2 separate regions of the Homo sapiens genome follow, and region 2 is linked to region 1. The links are contacts of gene promoters, found by promoter capture Hi-C in human tissues and cell types (Jung and others, 2019). All regions are on one chromosome and are shown on one strand. Each heading gives the region's core, a stretch centred on a gene start or on the middle of the fragment in contact. The rest is flanking DNA. Distances are from core to core; before and after follow the strand shown. Region 1 holds the start of GUCY1A2 (guanylate cyclase 1 soluble subunit alpha 2). Region 2 overlaps GUCY1A2 (guanylate cyclase 1 soluble subunit alpha 2).

Region 1 (6,443 bases), core at 1,347-3,846:
TGCTTCATTTTAAAAATGTCAATTCTAGTATAAACACAGCACTCTTCATATTGAGAGCTTTTGAACCCCGCTCCTGAACAGAAATACAAAGGAAACCCTTGAAAGCAAAGCAGATGTTGTACTGGCTATATCTAGGCCTTGATTTGTTTATAGTTTAAAAATCCATGGGAAAATAATGATCAAAGGCAGGGTGTAATTCATAGAGAAAATTGTAAGACGACTTCATCTGGCTAGATTCTGTAAAGAGTCTTTGATTCAAATGGTTCACACAAAGAAAAAATGTCCCATAGGTTCAGAGTTCTTTCTGGCAATAAACTTCCAGTGTAAACAGGAAGGCTCTTGGGCCTCTTACAAATTTTAGAAACAAATGATACTCATTGCCTTGCACTCAATAATTTTGACTTTGAGACAAGAGTTGGAATGGTTAATAAAAAGTTCCAATTCTAAGTTCAATATGAAGTTTATTTGCCGTTACCATAATATTTATTTGTGTGCGCAGCAGTTTATTGAAAGAATGTGAAGGACACATGCTATTTAGTATATTTAATACTAACTAAAATCCTATAATTCGAAAGAACTTGACTATTATATAATCAGTACCAAAGAAGAGAACTAGGAACTCCAATCCTTTATGCTGATTGATACTGTGTAGCAGAAATATTAAACAATTACCCCAAAGTTAGAATAATGTAATTTTCATTATAATTTAGAAAAAGGGGCTAGTGAAACTTTTTTAGCAAAACTGATGATTTTTTATGATTAAAAGTGTAATTTGAGTCTAATTTTCAATGGACACAAATGCACATAGAATTAATTGAAGTAATGGGGAAATCAATAGTAGATGCACAACAGTTTAAATAATAATTGTAACAATTATTATTTTAAAAGAAACTTCCTCAGGATGAGAAAGAATACATATATATAAGAATATATATTATATATATTCTTTCTCATATGTATATGTATATACATATACATATATATACACACACATATATATATATATATATATATATATATAATTTGAAGGGGGAGTGTCTGAGTGATAGTACACACTTTTCTATCTTTAAAGCCCATTTAAGATCTGGGGAAAAAGGTATGTCTCTGAACCAGTTTGAGTGGATTTTTCCAAATGAAACCTCAAATAGCATTTATATTTAAGCCCTAACAAACACTTGGGAAGATTTGAAGTTAAAAGCAAATTGTGGTGGGGGTACAGCACAGGTTTTGTGGTTTGGTTTTGTTTTGCTTTTTAAATAAACACAGTCCACAAAAACCCATCTGCCTTCACCTGGAAGGACCAGTTCTTTAATTAAAAAAACGCTTTGGCTTCGGTTTCACTGGGAAACTAAAGCCAGAGCCCCTAAACTTTTCTCTCCGCAGATCGGGTGAGCTGGGGAGGGTGCTCATCCACTTCATTGCAGGGGGAAGTACAGCCTGGAACCCCTTTCGGGATACTGTCATTTGCCCCTTCTTCCCATCTCTTACTCTATCCTCAGAACCAGTATGAGAGTTTTCTGGGGCTAAGGCAAGGGGCAGTGGGGTCAGGCGCTGGAAGGACTGGTTTGCAAAGAGATAAGCTTTGGAATGAAGCCGCACAGCTGAAAACTCGCGGCAAGACATGCTCGCGCTGTGGCGAGTCAGTTCGAGAAGCATTTATCCCTACTCCCCTTAGCTTTCTGAGCAGCATTTGCAGTCAGGTGCAAACAGATCGCATATTTGGCGCAAAGAGCCCTGAGGATGAGGGACGTGGGATCATTCCCCGGTTTCCCCCGGGCCAGGTGCTAGGTCGTTTGAGGAGGAACTGTTCTCCAGTTCTCAACGCCTGCAAAGGCGGCTATAGGTGGCAAGCGGAGCTGTCCAGCACTAGTGAGGAGCCAGCGGAGCCGGGAGCCCCGCGCACCCCGCCCGGCTGAGGCTCAGCAACAGTGCTGTCTTGTCAGAGCAGACGCTGTCCTCACTGCCGCCCCTTTCTGGGCTCGCTCCGCGCCCACACGGCCTCGCACGAGGCGGGGAACACAAGTCCCCAGGAGCTGCTCCAGCAGGATGGGCGCCAAAATGTTGCCCCTGTCCTTCCCTTCCCCTGAAAGCGTCTCCTCTGGAGTGGGCTGGCTGGACGCTTGGCCTTTCCCTTTTGCCTCGGAACTTCCTAAATAAACTCGGAGAAAGGACAACATGGACCCTAACCCCCACTTCACACTGTCAGGTTTCCCCAAGGTGGCTCCAGGGGGAGGCCTCTCGCCCCCCAGCCCCGAGCCCTTCTCCCCACCAGCGCCGCCGGGACCCATCTGCTCCCGAGGGCCGAGGATAAGGCGTTTGGGGTTGGGGCCCTCAGTCCGACCCGAGCTCCTGTGCGCACCTCCTCGGAGCAGGGAGGGCGCGCAGAGGACAGCAACGAAGTGTCCTCGTTGCTCCTGAAACGTGGCGACAGGCGAGGCAGAGACTCCCAATGAGTATGATGGCGACACGTGATTCCCGCGGAGGGAGAGCATGGGGGGGGGCGGGGGGATAAAGGGAGAAGGAGGGAGGCAGGGCAGCAAGTGGAGAGAGGCGGGAGCAGAGAGGGAAAGGGGGCGAGATAGGCGCGCAGGCGGCAGAAGCCTCTGCCTCTGCCTCCCCTTCTGCTTGGGCCGCAGCCCTCCCCGCCCCGCCGACCGCGGTCACACACTCTCGGAGCCTCCCCGTGAGCGGGAGCGCGGCGCACGGCGATGCGCCGAGGCGGGCGCTGAGGCGGCGCCGCGCGAGCAGCAGCAGAGGCGGCGGCGGCCCCCAGCCCAGCCCGGCGCCGCCGCCGAGCCCGGGCCCCAAGGTGCGGCGGCGCCCCAAGTTCCCGCCATGAGCAGCCGGCTCGGGGGGCTCCGCGGCCCCGGGGACTCCCGCCCCGCCGGGCGCGACCGCAGCGCCCCGCGGCCCCGACGCGCTTAACGTTGTCGCTTGCCGGTCCCGCCACCGCCGCCTCCGCCGCCGCTCGCGTCCTCGCCGCCACCGCCTCGGCCGCTGCAGCTCCGCCGGCAGCATGTCTCGAAGGAAGATTTCGTCCGAGTCCTTCAGCTCCCTGGGCTCCGACTACCTGGAGACCAGCCCGGAGGAGGAGGGGGAGTGCCCCCTGTCTAGGCTCTGCTGGAATGGCAGCCGGAGCCCGCCCGGGCCGCTGGAGCCCAGCCCGGCCGCAGCTGCCGCTGCCGCCGCCCCGGCCCCGACCCCGGCTGCTTCTGCCGCCGCCGCCGCTGCCACTGCCGGGGCCAGGAGGGTGCAGCGCCGGAGGCGGGTCAACCTGGACTCGCTGGGCGAGAGCATCAGCCGCCTGACGGCGCCCTCGGTGAGCGGGGGGCGGAAGGGGGGACCGCCTTCGGGGGAGAGAACGCGGATCTGTAAAGTTGGCGCTGGGCGAGCCGGGGCGCGAGCGCAGAGCCCGACCGCTGGGGGGCGGCCCGGCCTTACCCTGCACGGCCTAGGGTTCCAGTGGCTCCGGCGACAGAGGATCCCCTAGGCTAGGGCGGAAGAGGGGACTACAGCACTGGGAAGGAATAAGATTCCACTCCTTTGGGGTATCCTGATTCGGGGGCCTGTCTGCCCACCTCTAGCCTTGAACCCTACTTCACCACTGTTCCCCCTGGACAGCCCCAGTGCTGCTTCACACCCACCTGTTTTCTTTCCCCTAAACTTTCCCAGGCACTGTGTTCTGCAGTTCAGCTTCCCTGTCTTTCATCCTGTTCTCCAGCATCCCAAAGGAGCCCCAACCCCTTCCAGGAAACCCTTCCTCTCCTTATTTCCCACACTCTCTTGGTCTTAGCGTGACCTTCTCTGACATCTTTGAATTCCACAGGCTATCTGCATTCTATGTTGCATCCTTTTTCTCACATCTTCAGATACTTTTTGCCAGATACTTTTCTGAGTTGCCTTCTGTTCAAGTAATCTCTAATCTCGAGTTGTCCTCACCCCGTAGCTTTTTTTCTTTTTCTTTCTTATCCACTAGGCATTTATTCTTCTCTGGGTAAACCTGGTGTCTGGATTTCTTTTTTTTTAAATTAAATTTAATTTAAAGTCCCGGGTTACATGTGCAGGATGTGCAGATTTGTTACATAGGTACCAAACGTGTGCCATGGTGGTTTGCTGCACCTACTAACTCATCACCTAGGTATTAAGCTTCGCATGCATTAGCTATTTAAACCGCTCTGTACTTCTTGCACCTGTACCTCATCCTTTACTCTCTCCTCAATGGATTCTCTAGTGCTTTCTCTCTCACATTAGCTATTTAAACCTCTCTGTACTTCTTGCACCTGTACCTCATCCTTTACTCTCTCCTCAATGGATTCTCTAGTGCTTTCTCTCTCACATTAGCTATTTAAACCGCTCTGTACTTCTTGCACCTGCACCTCATCCTTTACTCTCTCTTCAATTGATTCTCTAGTGCTTTCTCTCTCATTTTTTGGTGGCTTCTTTATATTAGGCCCTTCCTAAATATTTGTGGAATGAATAAATGCCTCTCCAAACTTGTGGTCATCTTGGGATGTCTGTATCAGCAGTTTCAGGTGTACAACAAACTCCCCCTGGTTGTAGGCATCCTTCCAGAGGAGTACTGCCTTATTCCTGCCCAGGCATTTCAGCTACCCTTGGCTTTTACCTCTTGCAGGAATGCCAGACCTCTGATCCAATCTTACCGTGTCTGGGAGAGCTCTGTTTTAAAGAAATCCACTCTGTTGCAGACAGAATTTGAAAAAGATTCAGCGTCAAACCTCCACCCATCTTTTATGCTCACCCTGACCTTGGATACAAGAGCTTTAGCTCCTCCTGACAGCACTTTCACCTGCCCACCCCTAGGACTTTTACTTTTTTAAAGTTTCCGAAATGAATCTGAACACTGATCTTGTTTGATTACTGTTGAGTCTCTCTTTTGAGATTACTACTGCAAATGATGGTAGGGGGGACCTAAGAAGGAGTGGAACCCTGAGGGGACTGAGTACGGGTACCAGACAGGTCTACAAATATTCTTGTGGCACTTGTATTAATGGAGAATGATTTTTTTCTTTTACGAGACCTGATTGAAGATGTATAAATCACTTATTACATTATTTATTTTGAACTAATTTAATTCTTAGGAACACATATTGAGAAACAGTCATCTTCCTATTCTTGTGTATTTTCGTATTTGATATATCTTTCTGCCACTTTTTCTTTCATCATTAACCTAGAAAACAATCCTCAGAATAGATTGGCTACTCTTTGCTGTTCTTCCCTGCCAATATTTCCCAGGCAGCGTAATTTTATAAACTATTTGATGTTGCAAATTGTTGAAAATATTTATTTACAACAGGAGTCCAATGACCCCGAGCGTCTGTAGGCTTGTGTCAGTACTTAAAGCAACATTTGTGCAATAAAATAGTTATTTAGTACAACAGATTCTTATTTAATGAAATGATTTTGCTAAAGATAATGATTAGTTTGGGGAGAATTGTTGATATAACCTTGGAGGTTTTTTTTTTTTTTTTTTTTTTTTTTTTTTTTTTTTTGCCTAAGAGAATTTACAGATTTCTAAAAAGTAATGTCAATGCCTCTGATAATGCTAATTTAAGCTAAGACTATTTTCAACAACTTACATGAGGAGTAGATAAAAGAAACTGAGAAATGCAGTATTTTCTGCTAGAATAAGAGGAAGGAAATAGTCTCTGATGGTTACTTTTATAAGTTAAATTTGAATGACTGGCTTTTTGCTGGATGAAAAGAATGTATCCAGAGAATGGTTTTCAGAATAAGCAATTTAAAAATAATTGTGATGATCAAATAAATGCAACAGCTCTATATACTTTCCATGCCATAGTTGTTTTCTATTATGAAAAGGGTCTGTCAGGTGGACGCTGAGAACATACAGGTGAATATACTGTAAACATTTTCAACATAACACATGTATAGAAAAATTCTCCTTGGTTAACCATATCATCAATAGACTTAGTGACACAAATAAAAGAGAGAGATTATATTTCAAAGCAGTGACTCATTTCTGGGCAGTCCTTACCTTATTTTATTTGGCAAGTTAGAACACTAGCTCAAAAAGTTCCAGTAGATTCATTTTTTGACATTGTCAGGATTTGAAACTTCTTTGAATACTCTTCAGGAGATGGATTATGTCCTCTCTATTCTCTCATGAAAGCTGGACATTTTTTTGTTTTTGAACCACTGAGAGTAGCCATTACCAGAGCCTTTTTAGATGGGAATTTCTAGTTGTTTTGAATGTTGTGAGCTTTCTTGCATGCCATCACAATATACTTCAGGAGAAACTGTACTTGCCATGGAAGCTCCTGTTTTGTCAGTTGTCTCATCGTGGCATGTCTCAGTCACTTGGGATTTCTTCTTTATTCAGAATGATTTGCAAATAGAAAAATGAAAATTTATTTATTAAACTAGTTATTTGACCCATGGGATATCCACACTCAGGTTTTTGATGC
Region 2 (6,443 bases), core at 2,403-4,902, 89 kb after region 1:
TATATAACCAGTAATGCAATTGCTAGGTCAAATGGTAGCTCTTTTTAACTTCTTTGAGAAATCTCCAAACTGTTTTTCACAAACGCTGAACTAATTTATAGTCCCACCAACAACGTATAAGTGTTCCCTTTTCTCCACAGCCTTGCCAGCATCTGTTGCTTTTGACTTATTAATAATACCCATTCTGCCTGGTGTGAGATGGTATCTCATTGTGGGTTTGATTTGCATTTTTCTGATATTTAGTGATGTTGAGTATTTTTTTATATGTTTGGTGGCTGTTTTTATGTTTTATTTTGAGAAATGTCTGTTCATGTATTTTGCCTATTTTTAATGGTGTTATTTTTTGTTTGCTTAACTTCCTTATAGATTTTGGTTATTAGACCTTTGTTAGATGCATAGTTTATGAATATTTTCTCCCATTTTTTAGGTTGTTTACTCTGTTCATTTACTTTGCTTTTCAGAAGCTCTTTAGTTTAATTAGGTCCCACTTGTCAATTTTTGTTTTGTTTTGTTGCTTTTGGGACTTAGTAACAAATTCTTTCCCAAGGCCAGTGTCCAGAATGGTGTTTCCTAGGTTTTCTTCTAGGATTCTTACTGTTCGAGGTCTTACATTTAAATATTTAATCCATCTTGAGTTCATTTTTGTATATGGTAAAAGGCAGGGGTCCCATTTCATTCACCTGCATACAGCTAGCCAGCTATCCCAGCACCATTTATTGAATAGGGAGTCCTTTCCCTATTGCTTATTTTTGTCAACTTTGCTGAAGATCAGATGGCTGTGTGTAGCTTTATTTCTGGGTTTTCTATTCTGTTCCACTGGTTTATGTGTCTGTTTCTGTAATAATACCAAGCTATTTTGGTTATTGTAACCTTATAGTATAGTTTGAAGTCAGGTAATGTGATGCCTCTGGCTTTGTTCTTTTTGCTTAGGATTGCTTTGGTTATTTGGGCTCTTTTTTTGGTTCCATATGAACTTTAGAATAGTTTTTTCCAGTTCTGTGAAAAATAATGATGGTATCTTGATAGGAATAGCATTGAATCTGTAGATTACTTTGGGCAGTATGGCCATTTTAATGATACTGACTCTTCTAAACTATGAGCGACAAGGCTCATGTATGATATTTTGATGCAGATATTAGTGATGTTCATGCTGGTTCTGGGTTTTTAAAAATTAGTATAAGGTTAAAATTGCTGTATGGTATTTTTTTTAAATGAACCACACAGGAGGCTTAATGGCATTGTTCCTGTATAGTTACTTTATTGTGTATAGTAAGAGGACACTGTACATGATTACATGATGAATTATGTATTCCCAATAGTCATCTATAGGCTTAAAGTGCTTATTTTGCCATATTTAATTTTTGTTAACAAGAAATATTGTAGCCCTGAGCATAACAGGAGGTACCTCCTATTGGAGATCAGATTTTTATTTAGTTCTATTAAAGGTTTGTAGGTTCTCAGGGATAAAAATCAATCCCTTTAGTTAAAAATCATACAGAATCTTCCTTTAACTGTTCCTTTTGTTTTTAAGTTAGAATCATTTTAGCCAGTAGCTTTAAGTCTCAGTGAAAAAAAAATACATGTTTTCAATGTGTTGTCTACCTCTTCATTTTTTGATAGTTTCCTGTTTGTTCTTGTGTACTTTTTTGGTAAGTATACAGTGCAATAATTTTTAGTAAATGAATATAATAGTGCATCTACGACAACAATTTGGTTTTAGAAAACTTTATCACCCCCAAAAGTTTACCCATTTGCAGTTAATTCCTGCTCCTACCTCCAACTGCAGCCAACCACTGGCCTACTTTCATCTCTATAGATTTGCTTCTTCTACTCATTTCTTACAAATGTCATCATACAATTAGTTATCTTTCTTTTTCTTTTGGTTTGCCATCATGTTTTTGAGCTTATCTGTAGTGTAGTATGCATCAGCAGATTGTTAATTTTTCCTGATGAACAGTATTCTATTGCATAGATACCACACGGTTTGTTTATCCATTCACCAGTTGATGGACATTGATTTTCCAGATTTTGGCTATTATGAATAATGTTGCAATGAACATTCACATACAAGAGTTTGTGTGGATATGTTCCCATTTCTCTTGAACTGATTTGCAGTTGTTGCATCATATAGTAAGTACATGTTTAATTTTTAAAGAAGTTGCTGAACTGTTTTTCAAAGAGCTTATGCCATTTCCCATTTGACTGGCAGCGTAAGAAGGTTCAGCTTTTACACTCACACCTGGTATTGTCGGTCTTTTTCATCATAGCCTTCCTAATGAGTGCAAAGTGGTGTCTTAGGTTTTAAGTTATACTTCCCTGATGACTAAAGATGGTAAACATCTTTTCTTATACTTTTTAGTCATTGGTGTAATTTCTTTAGTTAAATATGTAGGCAAATATTTTGTCCATACTTAATTGTTGTTTGCTTTCCTATTAATAAATTGTATTAAAAATATACATTCTAGATATGATATTGTCTTTAAAAGGTACTTCCTATGCAGTTGTCTTTTATAATCTTCAATTTACTGTCCTTTAAAAATATTTATGGAGAAACTTCTGTTCAGAAAGTTTCATTCATAGAAATGTAAGTCTGGGCTTTATCGGTCAACACTGTTTACATATTTCAGTATCTCCTTCAGTTGCACTTGACTTTATCCTTTCTATTGATATCTTAGGTTGAAATAACAGTTTTCCTCTGGATATATTCTGTGTGGCCATATGCTGGTCTCGAACTCTTGACCTCGTGATCCGCCTGCCTTGGCTTGCCAAAGTGCTGGGATTTACAGGCATGGGTCGCTGTGTCCAGCCCCGAAGTACTTTCAAAACAGGAAAAGATATCAAAGGCATGGCAACATAACACACTAGGTTTCTTTTCTTATTATTTTGTTACAGTTTTACTTTTCAAGGATTTTGAGATTTGGTATAATTGAGTTCCAGAACTTAGACATCAACTTAGTATTTTTTCCTATAGCAACTTTTGAATCATGACTTAAGCTACAGCATCTTTCTTTTTGCAATTGGGTTTTATGGTAATTTCTAATTATTATAATTCTGATAGAAACAATTAGCTTTACATATGCTTTGATAGGGCATCATCCTTGAGCAAGCACAGAAAAAAAGCAGTATTGAGAGACAGTATTGTGTATGATTAAGAATACAGTCTCTGTAGAATGGCTTGAAGCCGGGAGGCAGAGGTTGCAATGAGCCAGGATCGCACCACTGCACTCCAGCCTGGTTGACAGAGCGAGACTCTGTCTCAAAAAAAAGAATGCAGTCTCTGTAGCAGGACTTCCCAACTTCAGACTGTTATTTACTAGCTGGGTAACCTTGAGCAAGTTAACTTTTTGAAGCTTGTTTTCATTGCCAACCTCATAGTCAGTGGGCCTCTCTTGTTTGTTCCCATTTCTTTTTAAAATAACTACCACATTCTCCTGACTTCCACAAATATGTTTACTACTTGTTTCAGTTTTATCACTGAAGACATATTTAAACATTCCCTTAGTTGTTTTTCTCATTTTTAATCCTTAGTTTTGACTAAGCCTTACTCCTTTTGTTAAATTTTAGTATCATTATTCTTAGAGAAAAATGCCAAAATATTAATATTTAAAAGGCATATCTGTCTATCCATTAGTATTTATCTGTATCTATGTATCTTAACATTTCTGGCACTGTTTTAAGTGTCTTCCATGAAAATGTTATAAGAAAGGAGTGAAAGCTGCTTTCAAATATTTAAATAGTTATCATATAAAAATTAGATAAAGTTTTTGTTTCAGAAGGCAAAACCAGTGTCAAAGAATAGATGTTATAAGAAAGTAGATTTGGTTAAGAATTAAGAGGAACTTTCCAACAACTGGAGACATTAAAAATGGAGGGAGTTGCCTAGTGAAATAAAGGTCTATATAATACTTGAGAGTTCATAAAGAAAATGAATGACAGTCACTCAGGGATATTTTACTGAAGATTCATAAAGGGAACCCAAACTTTAAAGGTAAATAATATGATCACGTTATTTTTGTAATGCTAGTTTCAGGAATAGGGAGAGTATCCATATTATAAACATTTTGTGCTATTGTGAAAAAAAACTTTGATTCTGTTTTCTTTTCATAGCAGATATGGTTTAACCTTAAAAAGTAATGAATTGGTGGAGTAGAGAGATTTAGAAAAGCTTTGACTATTTAGCAATTCTTCTTCTTTCAAAGCTTAGTACATAGTGGCTTTTAAAATTCAACTCAATAAAGTATGTTTAAAATGCTGCCTGTATTTGGATTCCAAGTTTAGTAGACAATTTCTGCTCCTCAAAATGCAATGAAAACTTGATTTCTATGATCTATGATGAATAATAAAAGCTGCCTTTAAAACATTTTATACTTGTAAGAGTGCTTTATAAGAAAGCCACTTATTTACATTTTTCAGCCTCCATGAAATTGAACCTTTAAGAAATGCTAAAATAGTAAACAAGTAATTAGGCTATGAGTTATTAACAAGTTTTATTTCAGTTTATTTAGTTGTTAGACAAAGCTAGTTTACACATTTCTATTATACTGGTGGCTAAAGATTATGATCACTTATTAGAGAGATCAGTTTCTATTGTACTTATAACATGATTCAGAACCCTTCATTCTGTTTAACAGCATTTCCTTATTCTGTGAAGAAATGAGTACAGTTTACCACATTTTATTTTTCTGAAAATAATCAAAATCCAAGTACAGTCATACACTACACATTGATGGTTTAGTCAGATTGACTGCATATATGACAGTGGTCCCATAGGATTGTAAAGCCGTATTTTATCATACCTTTTCAATGTTTAGACACAAAAATACCATTGTGTTCCAGTTCTTACAGTATTCAGGATAGTCACATACTGTATAGATTTGCAGCCTAGGAGCAATAAGCTCTACCATTTAGCCTATGTGCATTGTAGGCTATGCCTCTAGGTTTGTGTAAGTATACCCTGTTGTTCATATAATGGTGAAATTGCCCAACAGTGTGCTTCTGAGATGTATTTCTCTTGTTGTTAAGTGATTCATGACTGTATTTATGTTTGAATCATACAATAATCTTGGTTCGTTTTCCGTTTTTCCTAATGAAGACATGGTGGTTTTTTTTTTTTCCTTGGAGATACAGGGGGGTCAAAAATCTGAGCATATTGTAGGTGACAAGCAGTGGAAGTTGATTCCAAAACTCTTGCTTTTTGAAGGAGAGGTCAAGAATTATATTTCTTGTCAGCACAGACTCATCTGTGAAGTTGTTGTTGGCTGATGTTAAAAATGCTTGTAATAACATGTGTAGGTTCTTCAAAGGATTGAGATTTCAAGCTTACATGTCTCAAAATTTTGAGTGAAGCAGTGACTCTTTTTTGGCCATTGAACACCAGCTTCAGAAATCCTTCCATCCACTGTAGAAGAGGTGTGAGGGAATCTCTTTCTCTCTGTGAACATATATGGAGAACTCATACTATGATTTATGGCAGCTTGCATTTTCATATTTTTCTAATTTAGATGTTACTATGAATAAGGTAGGTGTAGATCTAACAATAGAATTGCCATAAACAGGAGTTAGAAATTCTTAACATCCTACAGTAAAAGAATTTTGTGCTACTCTGATACATTTTTTAGGTAGGTTATAAATTCTTATCTTACTATCTTAATATGACTAATTATGACAGCTATTTTTCAGTAGTTTAATTACCATTCTACCCTGTTCTGTGGTTATAAAGACTTATTCCAGGCCGGGCGTGGTGGCTCACGCCTGTAATCCCAGCACTTTGGGAGGCTGAGGCAGGTGGATCACCAGGTCAGGAGATCAAGACCATCCTGGCTAACATGGTGAAACCCCGTGTCTACTAAAAATATATTTAAAAAAAAAATTAGCCGGGCGTGGTGGTGGGCGCCTGTAGTCCCGGCTACTCAGGACGTTGAGGCAGGAGAATGGCGTGAACCCGGAAGGTGGAGCTTGCAGTGAGCCGAGATGGCACCACTGCACTCCAGCCTGGGTGACAGAGCGAGACTCTGACTCAAAAAAAAAAGACTTATTCCATACAAGAGTTTATTATTCTGTGAAATAATATATATTATTTTATGTACAATGTTTACATTCTATGTCAACTCAAAAAGAAAATTTTGTGAAGTTTGTGTTCTTATCCCCCCAGTTTATAGAAATAAATAGTACCTAATAAATTATTTATAGTTCTCTTGCTTGTTTCTCTATAATCTTGATTTTTTTTTTGAGACGGAGTCTCGCTCTGTTGCCCAGGCTGGAGTGCAGTAGCGCGATCTCTGCTCACTGCAAGCTCCGCCCCCCGGGTTCGTGCCATTCTCCTGCCTCAACCTCCCGAGTAGCTGGGACTACAGGCGCCCGCCACCACGCCTGGCCAACTTTTTGTATTTTTAGTAGAGACAGGGTTTCACCGTGTTCACCAGGATGGTCTCGATCTCCTAACT

The links. The method cuts DNA at HindIII sites, captures the fragments that hold promoters and counts their contacts. A contact is called where the count stands out against the background at its distance.
Region 2: a contact is called between a fragment that was not itself captured here and the fragment with the promoter of GUCY1A2 in region 1, in 2 of the 25 tissues and cell types used here (H1 embryonic stem cells and pancreas).

What each region holds. Positions count from the first base shown.
Region 1 is chr11:107,014,629-107,021,071 of GRCh38, reverse strand. GUCY1A2 (guanylate cyclase 1 soluble subunit alpha 2) reads left to right here and starts at 2,596. Exons shown (of 8, transcript NM_000855.3): 1 at 2,596-3,319. The coding sequence starts at 3,017. RefSeq lists a silencer at 3,073-3,202. The HindIII fragment of the contact is 5,267 bases long and covers 728-5,994 here.
Region 2 is chr11:106,927,158-106,933,600 of GRCh38, reverse strand. All of the region lies in intron 4 of GUCY1A2 (guanylate cyclase 1 soluble subunit alpha 2), which reads left to right. Among named protein-coding and RNA genes, the nearest start is that of GUCY1A2, 88 kb to the left of the region's middle. The HindIII fragment of the contact is 5,903 bases long and covers 701-6,443 here.